Regions from separate parts of the Homo sapiens genome. Here all the other regions are linked to region 1. Evidence: promoter capture Hi-C in 16 types of primary human blood cells and fetal thymus (Javierre and others, 2016). All regions are on one chromosome and are shown on one strand. The core of a region is centred on a gene start or on the middle of the fragment in contact, and the rest is flanking DNA. Distances in the headings are between cores, read along the strand shown. Region 1 holds the start of CCDC175 (coiled-coil domain containing 175). Region 2 has its middle 76 kb from the start of DAAM1. Region 3 has its middle 53 kb from the start of DAAM1. Region 4 has its middle 22 kb from the start of LRRC9.

Evidence for each region. Contacts are between HindIII fragments. The CHiCAGO score rates a contact against its expected background, and 5 or more counts as called.
Region 2: a contact is called between a fragment that was not itself captured here and the fragment with the promoter of CCDC175 in region 1, in 3 of 17 cell types (naive CD4 T cells, total CD4 T cells and total CD8 T cells). The highest score is 6.9, in naive CD4 T cells.
Region 3: a contact is called between a fragment that was not itself captured here and the fragment with the promoter of CCDC175 in region 1, in 3 of 17 cell types (total CD8 T cells, naive CD4 T cells and naive CD8 T cells). The highest score is 6.4, in total CD8 T cells.
Region 4: a contact is called between a fragment that was not itself captured here and the fragment with the promoter of CCDC175 in region 1, in 2 of 17 cell types (M1 macrophages and monocytes). The highest score is 8.0, in M1 macrophages.

The regions. Positions count from the first base shown.
Region 1 is chr14:59,575,376-59,578,315 of GRCh38, reverse strand. CCDC175 (coiled-coil domain containing 175) reads left to right here and starts at 1,504. Exons shown (of 20, transcript NM_001164399.2): 1 at 1,504-1,697. The coding sequence starts at 1,541. The HindIII fragment of the contact is 5,306 bases long and covers 1-2,267 here.
Region 2 is chr14:59,111,650-59,114,589 of GRCh38, reverse strand. No RefSeq gene overlaps it. Among named protein-coding and RNA genes, the nearest start is that of DAAM1, 76 kb to the left of the region's middle. The HindIII fragment of the contact is 7,010 bases long and covers 1-2,940 here.
Region 3 is chr14:59,134,253-59,137,192 of GRCh38, reverse strand. It overlaps the pseudogene AKR1B1P5. Among named protein-coding and RNA genes, the nearest start is that of DAAM1, 53 kb to the left of the region's middle. The HindIII fragment of the contact is 8,528 bases long and covers 1-2,940 here.
Region 4 is chr14:59,896,435-59,899,374 of GRCh38, reverse strand. No RefSeq gene overlaps it. Among named protein-coding and RNA genes, the nearest start is that of LRRC9, 22 kb to the left of the region's middle. The HindIII fragment of the contact is 571 bases long and covers 1,250-1,820 here.

The DNA of each region.
Region 1 (2,940 bases), core at 255-2,754:
TAATCTCCCTCAAGTGTTTCCCATTAGTGGAACTTACCAAGAAAACAGGTGGCAAGGACATCCAGGAAATTTCATATCCAGTCTTCTTACTCCTGCCACACAGAGGAGGGCCCAGAAGGGCAGGAACAGATTTGAATACCAATAGACCAAATCCAGCAAAAAAGGAGGATGTTGTCCAGGATGGTTTCCAACACCAAAATATGGCACTCCCTGGATGAAGGAGGCCTGGATTCTAGAACTAGTTCTGCTACTGGTATGCTGTGTCCCCTCCAAGGCAGTGTTGCACAGTGGTTTAGGATGTAGCTCAGTGCCCTCACTTGCAAAGCAGGCAATAATACCTAGCTCAAAAGATTATTTGTGAGGGTTAAATGGGGTACTGCAAAGTATTTAAAACAGTGCCTGGAACAAAATAAGCATTTAACAATTGATAGCTATTGTCATTGTTACTATCATTCTAATTTCAATTTTGCCATCTGTAGAGAAAAGAAGAGGAGGGTTGAATCACCTTTGCTTCTCTCTAACCCACCAGAGGAAAAGGAACTGACAGACTCAACCTAAGCCTCATGCTAAGCTGAATTTTGGAGATGCAGAGAAAAATGAATAATATCCTCCTGTCCCCGTCATCACAGAGCTCACAGTTCGATGGGAAGACAGAGAAAAATCACTATGATTCAAGGCAAAATGTGCTCAGTGATGTACTAGATACAAGGAAAGTTCTAAATTAGTACAAAAGAAGGTTTTGTAGCATAGTAGAAAGAGTCATACAGACTTCACTTTATTATTTTATTTTATTATTTTGAGATGGAGTTTAGCTCTTGTCGCCCAGGCTGGAGTGCAATGGCGAGATCTCGGTTCACTATAACCTTTTCCTCCCGGGTTCAAGCGATTGTCCTGCCTCAGCCTCCTGAGTAGCTGGGACTACAGGCACGCGCCACCACGCCCGGCTAATTTTTGTATTTTTAGTAGAGATGGGGTTTCACCATGTTGATTAGGCTGGTTTTGAATTCATGACCACAGGTGATCCTCCCGCCTTGGCCTCCCAAAGTGCTGGGACTACAGGCGTGAGCCACCTCGCCCGGCCCAGACGTCACTTTAAATCCAATATTATCCTCTTGTGGTCTTGAGCCGTTCATTTAGTCGCCCGCGCCTCAGTTTACGTGTCTGTAAAAGTGGAGGTACTAAAAGAGCCTGCTCACAAAGTCCTTGTGAAGATTAAGTGAGCTACTGTATATAAAGGTTCTCCTGCAGTATCCGGCACAAAGATGCGCTCAAAAGTGATCATTATTATGATTCCAGTGGCCCACAAAAAAGATACAGGCCTGAACTAACGCAATGGAAATTGAAAGGGGAAAAATTAGCTAAAGAGAGAGTCATTCTTCCCAGACTGCTTAATTATCGTGGATAAAATTAGAGAACCAGGAGGGTACCTACTAGAGGTGCGGGCCACGAGGGGGCGCCCCACGACCTCGGTGTCCTCGTTGCCCGTGGCAACCGGCAATCCTTGGCTCTGGCTTAGGAGGCGCTCAAGTAGAGCGGCAAAATGGCCCTGAGCCCCTGGACCCCAGGGCTGGGCGCTGGCGAGAAGCTGGTGCAGGCGGCTGCCGTCTCCACTGGCCCCTCCCTGGAGTTATGCACCTTACCCTCCACCCTGGGCTCCTCGGTCGCGGTCGAGGCGCTGGAGCAGCTGTTTGTTGTGGGTAAGACGCCCCTCGGGCGCTGGAAGGGACGTCTCCTCAGAGGTGGCGCTTAGGAGGCACTCAGCGGGAACCCTGAGCGGGGACTCTCCTCCCGGAACCAGGGCATCACTGGGCAGGGCAGAGCCTTCTCCCCGCTCCTTGGAGGCTGGGGAGAGAGAGGTGGCGGGTGGGACCAAGTGCCCAGATCTCCTGCCCTAGCGCAGCTGAGGTGACTTCGCTCAACCCTCAGTAGTAGTTAAATTACTGAGGTGACAAATCCGGGACTCCCAAGCCACTGCCCTATGCCTGCGACCTGATTACACACCTGCATTTAGATTATGCCTTCGATTTCAGTTCTCTTCTTGCCGTTCCTTTACAAGTTAACTTCCTCCGACATTTTGCCGTGGCAAACTGGAGAATTTAACAAGCAAATAGGAAAGGGAGTGTTTAAGAGGCTTCTGTTGTGTTGAGCAAGAAAAATTAGATGTAAAGGGTTGTTTAGGAGATTCTAATAGAAAATGACCTTGGATAGGGCCAGGTTAAAGTATTTTTCAGTTAGAAAGCTGAACCTGTAATCAAGTCACTTAAGCTTAAGGTAAGACAATCCAAGAAAGGGTGTTTCTTGTTCGGTGCAAAAACCGTTTAGGCCAAACAACAAAACATTTCAGTGCTTCACTAGAATCATCCCATTTCTTCAAGATAATCGTATTGATTTATGTTACAATGTTACTATTAATTTGGGATAGTTTTTATTTTCCTTCTTAAATGCGCTAGGTTAATTTCACAATTCTTAGCAAATATGCTTGGGTAAATGTTATCATGAAGAATGTTGGCCGGGCGCGGTGGCTCATGTCTGTAATCCCAGCACTTTGGGAGGCCGAGGCGGGTGGATACCTGAGGTCAGGAGTTTGAGACCAGCCTGGCCAACATGGTGAAACCCCGTCTCTACTAAAAATACAAAAATTAGCCGGGCGTGGTGACGCACGTCTGTAATCCCAGCTACTCGGGAGGCTGAGGCAGGAGAATCCGTTGAACTCAGAAGGCAGAGGTTGTGGTGAGCCGAGATGGTGCCACTGCACTCCAGCCTGCGCGACAGAGCGAGACTCCGTCTCAAAAAAAAAAAAAAAAAAAAAAGGAATGTTACCCACTGAGGAGACCTAAAGTTATTAAGACCTAAATTATTCACATGTATCTGAGGTCACTGTCAATGACAGACCTAGAACCTTGAACTCTTTTCATACTTGATCTCTAGATCGGCATGCCA
Region 2 (2,940 bases), core at 269-2,768, 460 kb after region 1:
CGACCTCCCAAAGTGCTGGGATTACAGGTGTGAGCCACTGCACCTGGCCTCTTTTAAAATTTTTATAATTTTCTGCTGAATGTTATCAGAAAGTTCTGGGAGATAAAGTTCTGGAAATTGAATATATGTGGTAGGAAGATTAACCTTTGACAGTCTTTGTTTTTTGTGTTTTTCCTGCAGACTTACATCTAATGAAGGAGGTTGTGCCTGTGTCTGAATGCAGGAGGGGTCCTATGACTCTGGTCTTGCTATAGAGTCACCATCTATAATCAGCCTCTTTTCTTTCAGATATTATTTGACTTTGAACTTTTTAGCTTTTAGTTGTTTGCTTGCTTTCTTTCCTCCTTCACTATGACAAGGAATGCTACATCCTTTTAGACCTGCAATTTTGGTTGCCTGTTTTTCTATTTTATTGCTTTGCAATCTTCTGGGGCTCTGCATCCAACACATGGCTCTCCTGAATTTGTCTTTTTCTAATATAAAAATATTCATGCACTTGGGTTTCTTTCAATGGCACCTGAATTTCTGGCAGGTGATTTTCTCCATTCAAGGTTGTGCTGTGAGTGAAACAGCCCTCAGCCATTAATGTCATTTGCAGAAGGTTCAAATCTGCTATCAGGTGGCTCTAGCCTTATTTATGTTCTGCTTGGGTTTGTTTTTTTTTTTTTTTTTGCTATATTTTTCTATTTCATCTCACTTGGATAAATGGCAGTCTTCTGTGGCTACCTCTTTGTAACTAGACAGATAAAGCTGACCAACTTCATGCCTTCAGGAAGTTTCTCCTCGACCTTTTTAATGAATAGAAGTTTCTCTTTGTTTTTCCCAGCTTTTTGTCTCTCTTTATAAGCCAGACTTAAAGAGAAAAAATGTATAATTTCAGTAGACTCCCAAAACCTGCTGTGGGAGTGGGAGTTGACAGGGTGTTAGGGATGACCTCAGGTAGGTGGTTCACAGGGATCTTCAACAGGACTCTGTAGCGAAAGTCCTTCTCTTGACCCCAGAGACAACTCTGAACCATTCTTCCACTGCCATCAGCTTTTCACTAACTTTAGCTGTGAAGAGTCAGCAGTTGCCAGAGTGGATACAAGGTTAAGGGAGAATATTACAATGAGGAATACTTGAACTTAGCTGGAATCTGGAAGAATCCAATAGAGAGGGAGAACCTGAGATGGAGAAGAGTCCTATCAAAAGGGTTGAGTGCCTAGCCCAGGAATCAACCTGAGCTAGTAATTAAGATGCCTTCACGGCCGGGCGCGGTGGCTCACGCCTGTAATCCCAGCACTTTGGGAGGCCGAGGCGGGTGGATCATGAGGTCAGGAGATCGAGACCATCCTGGCTAAGAAGGTGAAGCCCCGTCTCTACTAAAAATACAAAAAATTAGCCGGGCGCCTGTAGTCCCAGCTACTCGGGAGGCTGAGGCAGGAGAATGCCGTGAACCCGGGAAGCGGAGCTTGCAGTGAGCCGAGATTGCGCCACTGCAGTCCGCAGTCCGGCCTGGGCGACAGAGCGAGACTCCGTCTCAAAAAAAAAAAAAAAAAAAAAAAAAAAAAAAAAAAAAAAAAGATGCCTTCACACAGCAACTGATCTCTTGCCCATATCAATAATTTTATCACTACTACTATTAGTTGGGTGGCTTTGGGGAGTTAATGAAGATTACGGGATGAGTGCTAAAGATTTTGATGATGTGCGTTGTCTGTTTACTCTGCTGACTGTTCTTTTTTGCTGTGAAAAAGCTCTTTAGTTCAATTAAGTCCCAGCAATTTATCTTTGTATTTATTGCATTTGCTTTTGGGTTCTTGGTCATGAAATCCTTGCCTAAGCCAATGTCTAGAAGGGTTTTTCCAATGTTATCTTCTAGAATTTTCATAGTTTCAAGTCTTAGATTTAAGTTCTTAATCCATCTTGAGTAGATTTTTGTGTAAGGTGAGAGATAAGGATCCAGTTTCATTCTCCTACGTGGCTAGCCAATTATCCCAGCACCATTTGTTGAAAACGGTGTCCTTTCCCCACTTTATGTTTTTGATTGCTTTGCCAAAGATCAGTTGGCTGTAAGTATTTGGGTTTATTTCTGGGTGCTCTGTTCTGTTCCATTGGTCTATGTACCTGTTTTTATACCAGTACCATGTTGTTTTGGTGACTATGGCCTTATACTATAGTTTGAAATTAGGTAATATGATGCCTCCAGATGTGTTCTTTTTACGTGTCTTGCTTTGGCTGTGCAGGCTCTTTTTCAGTTCCATATTAATTTTAGAATAGTTTTTTTCTAATTCCGTGAAGAATGATGGTGATATTTTGATGAGAATTGCATTGAATTTGTAGATGGCTTTTGGCAGTATGGTCATTTTTACAATATTGATTCTATCCATCCATGAGCATGGGATGTGTTTCCATTTGTTTGTGTTGTCTATGATTTCTTTCAGCAGTGTTTTGTAGTTTTCTTTGTAGAGGTCTTTCACCTCCTTGGTTAAGTGTATTCCTAAGGTGTTTTTTTTTTTTTTTTTTTTTGGTTTTCATTTATTTATTTATTTATTTTTGCAGCTATTTTACAAGGGGTTGAGTTCTTGACTTGATTCTCAGTGTGGTCGCTGTTGATGTATAGAAGAGCCACTGATTTGTGTATATTAATTTTGTATCTGGAAACTGGAGTGTTTAGGGTTTTCTAGGTAAACAATCATACCATCAGCAAACAGTGACAGTTTGACTTCCTCTTTACTGATTTGGATGCCCTTTATTTCTTTCACTTGTCTGACTGTTCTGGCTAGGACTTCCAATACCATGTTGAAGAGGAATGGTGAGAGTGGGCCTCCTTGTTTTGTTCCAGTTCTCAGAGGGAATGCTTTCATCTTTTCCCCATGAGTATTATGTTGGCAGCGGGTTTGTCATAGATGGCTTTTATTATATTGAGGTAGGTCCCTTGTATGCCAATTTTGCTGAGAGTTT
Region 3 (2,940 bases), core at 218-2,717, 440 kb after region 1:
ATTTCAGCAGATGATTTTTTGCTTCCTAAGTGGGAAATTCACAATTTATTGCAATACAATTTATAAACCTACTTGTATTAGCACCTATTCTCTTCTCTCCTGTTCCAGTGGAGGAGGAATCTCTTCCATCTAAAGTGAATCCTTTCATGTGTTCTCTGGATCCCATTCCTCCCCACCTCCCCTAATAGACAAGAAGCAGAATTCAACTAATCTATACATTTAGCTTATCATCTTGACTTCTTAGGGCATTTTACACAGTTTACTCTGTCCTTCTTGAGCTCGTCTGTCCTTTTTCCTTAGCTGTTGTGATAATATACACTCTCTTGGTGTCTTTTGTACCTTGCTGTCCCTCCTCCAAGTCTTTTTCTTTTTCTTTTTTTTTTTTTTTTTTTGAGATAGAGTATCGCTCTGTCGCTCAGGCTGGAGTGCAGTGGTGCAATCTCAGCTCACTGCAAGCTCCGCCTCCTGGGTTCATGCCATTCTCCTGCCTCAGCCTCTCAAGTAGCTGGGACTACAGGCACCCACCACCACGCCCAGCTAATTTTTTGTATTTTTAGTAAAAATGGGGTTTCACTGTGTTAGCCAGGATGGTCTCGATCTCCTGACCTTGTGATCCGTCCGCCTCATCCTCCCAAAGTGCTGGGATTACTGGCATGAGCCACCACACCTGGCCTCTTCCAAGTCTTTCTTTACTGGTTTTTCCTACCTAATATTTAAATATTGAAGTTTCTGTGCATGTTTCTGGGAAGGGGTCTGGGAAGCACTGCATCCATGGCCAGCCACCTCATGCTCAACAATGGCACCAAGATGGCCATCCTGGGACTGGGCATCTGAATGTCCCCTCCAGGCCAGGTGACCAAGGCTGTGAAGGTGGCGATTGATATCAGGTACCGCCACATCCACTGAGCCCAGGTACGAGAATGAGAATGAGATAGGGGTGGCCATTCAGGAGAAGCTCAGGGGGCAGATGGTGAAGCGTGAGGAGCTCTTCATCATCAGCAAACTCTGGTGCACATACCATGGGAAGGGCCTGGTGAAAGGAGCCTGTCAGAAGATGCTCAGTGACCTTAAGCAGGGCTACCTGGACTACTACCTTGTTCACTGGCCAGCCAGCTTTAAGCGTGGGAAGGAATCCTTCCCATTGGATGAGTCAGGCAACATGGTTCCCAGTGACACTGACATTGTGGACACACGGGTGGCCATGAAGAGCTGGTGGATGAAGGGCTGGTGAAAGCTACTGGCATCTCCACCTTCAACCATCTCCAGGTTGAGAGGATCTTAAACAAACCTGGGTTAAAGTATAAGCCAGCAGTTAACCAAATGGAGTGCCACCTGTGCCTCACACAGAAGTTAATCCAGTACTGCCACTCTAAAGGCATTATGGTGACTGCCTGTAGTCCCCTTGGCTCTCCTGACAGCCTCTGGGCCAAGGCTGAGGACCCTTCCCTCCTGGAGGATCCCAAGATCAAGGCAATCATAGCCAGGTGATCATAGCCAGGCGATCCAGGTTTGGATCCGGTTCCCCAGGCAGAGGAACTTGATGGTGATCCCCAGGTCTGTGATACCAGAATGCACTGCTGAGTCACAGACTTTGAACCAAGCAGCCAGGATATTACCATCTTATTCAGCTACAACAAGAACTGGAGGGTCTGTGCCTTGGTAAGCTGTGCCTCTTATAAGGATTACCTCTTCCATGCAGAGTTTTGAAGGGGTGGATGCCTGCTCATCCCCAGTGACCTACACTTGTTTTTCCTGCTCATTTTTTTCTTGCAAATATAGCATGGCCTGTGTCACTCAGTGGTGGAACAACAACCACTAGACTGAGCAGCCAGGGCTTTTCTAGCTTGATGTTGGGTCTGAGGAGCAGTGTCAGTAGAGTAGAAGTCTATTCCAGTTTCCTCTGCCCTCTTTTTTGCCCAGCTGGGGAAAGTGTAGTGTGCATACCCTTTTTTTGACCAAGGAGAAGCAAAATCTACAAGGTCAAAATAGTGCCACTAACAGTCACGTTTTGACTGCTTGTAACTTTTCAGCAAGACTTCTCCTTGCCTAAAAAAAAAAGTGCTGTTGTGAGCTTAAAAAAAAATTTGACATTTCTTAGGCTGTGTACTACCATTTTAACTTCCACTCCCCCATTTTCTTCAAACCTCCATCTTTGTATTATTGTGTGTGTGTGTGTGTGTTCAGTTATAGGAATTTGGGTGTGCAAAAGTGTAAATTTCTTTTTAAAACATTTCTCATAGTCTCATTTCTGCCGACAGTAGTAACTCAGTTACTTTGGCTCAGGGTTTCTCAACCTCAACACTCTTCACATTTTGGACAGGATAATTCTTTGTTGTGAAGGTTGTCCCACATGTTTTGGGATGTTTAGCGGCATCCCTGGCCTCCACTCATAAGATGCCAGCAGCCTCCTGCCCTTCCTAGTTGTGCCAACGACAAAATGTCTCCAGATCATATCAAATGTCCCTGGAGGTGTAAAATTGTCCTTGGTTGAGAACCACTGCATTTACCTTAAACTCAGTCTCTTTGGGGGTACCTAGTCATTTTGTTTCACCTCATCTTCCTTTTCCTTCCCATCTCCCTGGGAGTGGTCAGAGGCTCTGGAGGACTTATGCATAACCTTGACATTCTCAGAGAAACCTTTGATCTGCAATTACTTCTCCACTGGCATTCACTGTTGCTGTCACTCAAAGCCTGTTCTCACAACAGGCTCACTGCAGGACCATTGCTCTGCTGGGTTTTGGCGTCTCCCCTGTTGCTTTCCCATAGTTCCTGCCTCAACATTGGCCGGTGGCTGTCTAGCTTCTGAAACTCAGCAAAATTTTTCCGTCTCAACTCTGACTGTGGCTGCCCATCCCACAGCCTCTACTGTGAGAATCTCCCTTTCTCTTCTGCAAGTTGATATTTTAGTTCGCTCTGTGCTCACTCAAGTCCCTGATCACT
Region 4 (2,940 bases), core at 286-2,785, 320 kb before region 1:
TGCCTCAATTCTTCAGATTGTCATTAAGAATTTTCCAACTGGATGTTCCATTTAATGAAATAAAGGTTTATTTCTTCAAGACTTCCTAAACATTCTTTGCCTTGCTCACTAATTTTCTTCCTATTGGTGGTTTCTACCTCTAATTTAAATGAGTTGCTAAGCATCAGTAGTGCTGCTTGAGCCACGAATACAGGGAGTCAAGTGTGAGCTACAATGTATGTTGATGAACAGCCATGAGTGACTGACAGGTGTTTCTCATTACAAGTTATTGGGTTTTTTTGGAGATAATAATATCGAAGCATATTTAATGGTAGCTTTTAATTTAGAATTTCACCACAAAGATCTTTTGATTAGAAACAGCTATTCTCAAACTTTTTGGTTTCCTTCATACTTTTAAAAATTATTGAGGACCCCAAGGAGTTTTTGTTTGTGTGAGTTACAATTGGTATTAATCATATTAAAAGTTAAAATTCAGAAATTTAAAACATTTATTAATTTTGAAATAATAATAAACTCATTACATGTTAACACAAAAACATGTTTTTATAAAGATAATCGTATCTTATGAAACAAAACTGTAGTAAGGAACACGACATGGTTTTACATTTTTTTAAAAAACCAATGTCTGACTTAAGGGAAGACATTTAGGATTCCCATACTCCTTTTGCAGTCAATCCATTACAAAATCTTAGATCGTGTAGCTTCTGGAAACCTCCACTGTGCATTTGTGAGACAATGAGAGTGAAAAAGCAAATAACATCAACATTATTGTGAAAACAGCTCACAAACCCTGAAAGTCACTAGCCACACACTGAAGACTACTTATTTAGAACAATATTTGGTTCATGAGGGGAAATTGTGTAATATTCGTAACTGAAGTTGAATCAATGTAGAACTATAGGGCTAGAAGGTGTTAGTTACTGGAACATAGTTTAAAAAATATGTCTTAAAATAATTTATCTACTGTTTAAATTGTAGTAGAAATTAATTTAAAAATTCTAAAAAGCATCACATATTTGAAATTATTGAGTGGCAAAAATATGAGGATATATATACATTGAGCAGAACTTTAAAAAATAATAGTCTTTAGAAGTTACCATTTGTGACCTTGCTACTAGAACTAGTTACTACCATCATATTACCTGATCAAGTCATCATGGTACAGTAGAAAGAGCTCAAGAGTGTGAGTTCTAACTTCCAATTTGACTGGTTTTGTGAACTTGGGCAAATTACTTCACTCCCCTAAGCTTCAGCGTCCTCATTTGTGAAATGGGAATTAAAGTACCGACCTTGCAGAATTGTAAGATAGGGAAATGGGGGAGCCGTGAGTATAAGGATTAAGCTCCCACCTCAACATTTAGCGCAGATTTTGATGGACACCAATATTGAATTCCACCTAGAAACAGGTGGGGGCAGTGGTGAACTGCGTGAGTAGGGAGGCATTGGCAAATCTTAGCTGCAAATAGCCGCAAACACCCTAGTGAAAGAATATCAGGCCACTGGACGTGGTGGCTCATGCCTCTAATTCTATCACTTTGGAAGGCCAAAGCAGGAGGATCCCTTAAGTCCAGGAGTTCAAGATCAGCCTGGGCAACATAGCGAGACTGTGCCTCTGCAAAAAATAAAAAAATATTAACTGGGCATTGTGGCACACACCTGTGGTTCCAGCTACTAGGTAGGCTAAGATAGGAGGATTGCTTGAGCCTGAAAGGTCAAGGCTGTAGTGAGCTGTGATGTACCACTGCACCCTAGCCTGGGTGACAGAGCAAGACCCTGTCTCAAAAAGAAATAACAATAAAATATCAGGCCAAATCCAAGCTTGATGCAGCAGTGGCATCAGAAGACCAGACAGATCACAGTAACTATGAGGTAAAGAGACACAGAAGCCAGAAACCAGGGTGAGCACAGGAATGAAAGCCAAAGAGCAAGCTACCAGGTCACAGAGGGGAGAGTCAGATCAAGGCCAGGAACCAGGAGTAGGTAAGGTCCAGGAGGGGGTACAAAGAATCCTGAGAGAGAAACCTCGGGCCCTGGGTGAACTTGATGAGGAGTGAAGCACTAGGAAGTGGTAGCCCTGGCTAGTCACATAGGCCTAGCCTGATCGAAAAGACAGTCAAGAAGTGGGCAGGATGGGGCTTTTCCCACACATCTACCCAGGCATCACATAGATCTGGCCTGGGCGAAATGAATACTCCCCCTGCTTCAGCCCGTCTCACCTCTTCATCTTGTAACAGAAGTGCTCTTTCCTGTGGAGAACTCATTCCAGACAAAAAAAGTAAGGCTGACTCCACCTAGGGTGACCAGTCTTCCTGGTTTGCTTGGAACTGAGGGGGTTTCCTGGGACCTTGGACTTTCAGTTTTAAAACTGGACAAATCCCAGGCAAACTGGGATGAGCTTGTCACCCTGCCTTACACTATAACCACCGCTACCCTAAATGAGTGCACATATGCCCCAAGTTGGGCTGATGGAGAGGATCTCCAGGACATTCGTCTTAGAGCTGCCATCAAAGATGGTTCTATTACTTCTGGGTGGACTAAGTCGGTGGAATAGATGTTATCTGCCAACTGTCATTTCATCCACTACAGGAAGAATGTCTGTCTGAGAGATGAGTATAAATCCCTATCTCTGATGAGCATCTCAATCCTGCTGAACCTGAAGCAAGGACTGCCCAGGAAACTTTTGGCGACATGAGCTTATGAATTCTTTCTTCTGAAGTTTGGATTTGGTTTCTGGCCTGGCTTAATATAGTGGGTACTTTGAATAGAAGGCAGATATAAATCATGGTGTATACTTACAGGCATTTTAACTATCAGAAGACTCCCTCACTTAGTGAGACATTATAGCTCACTGGGTTAAAAGCTATAATACAGGACTGCCTAAATGACAAACTCCTCTGCCTTGATCAGTGTCACACAATTGCCTGTATTATGGTGTCTTGA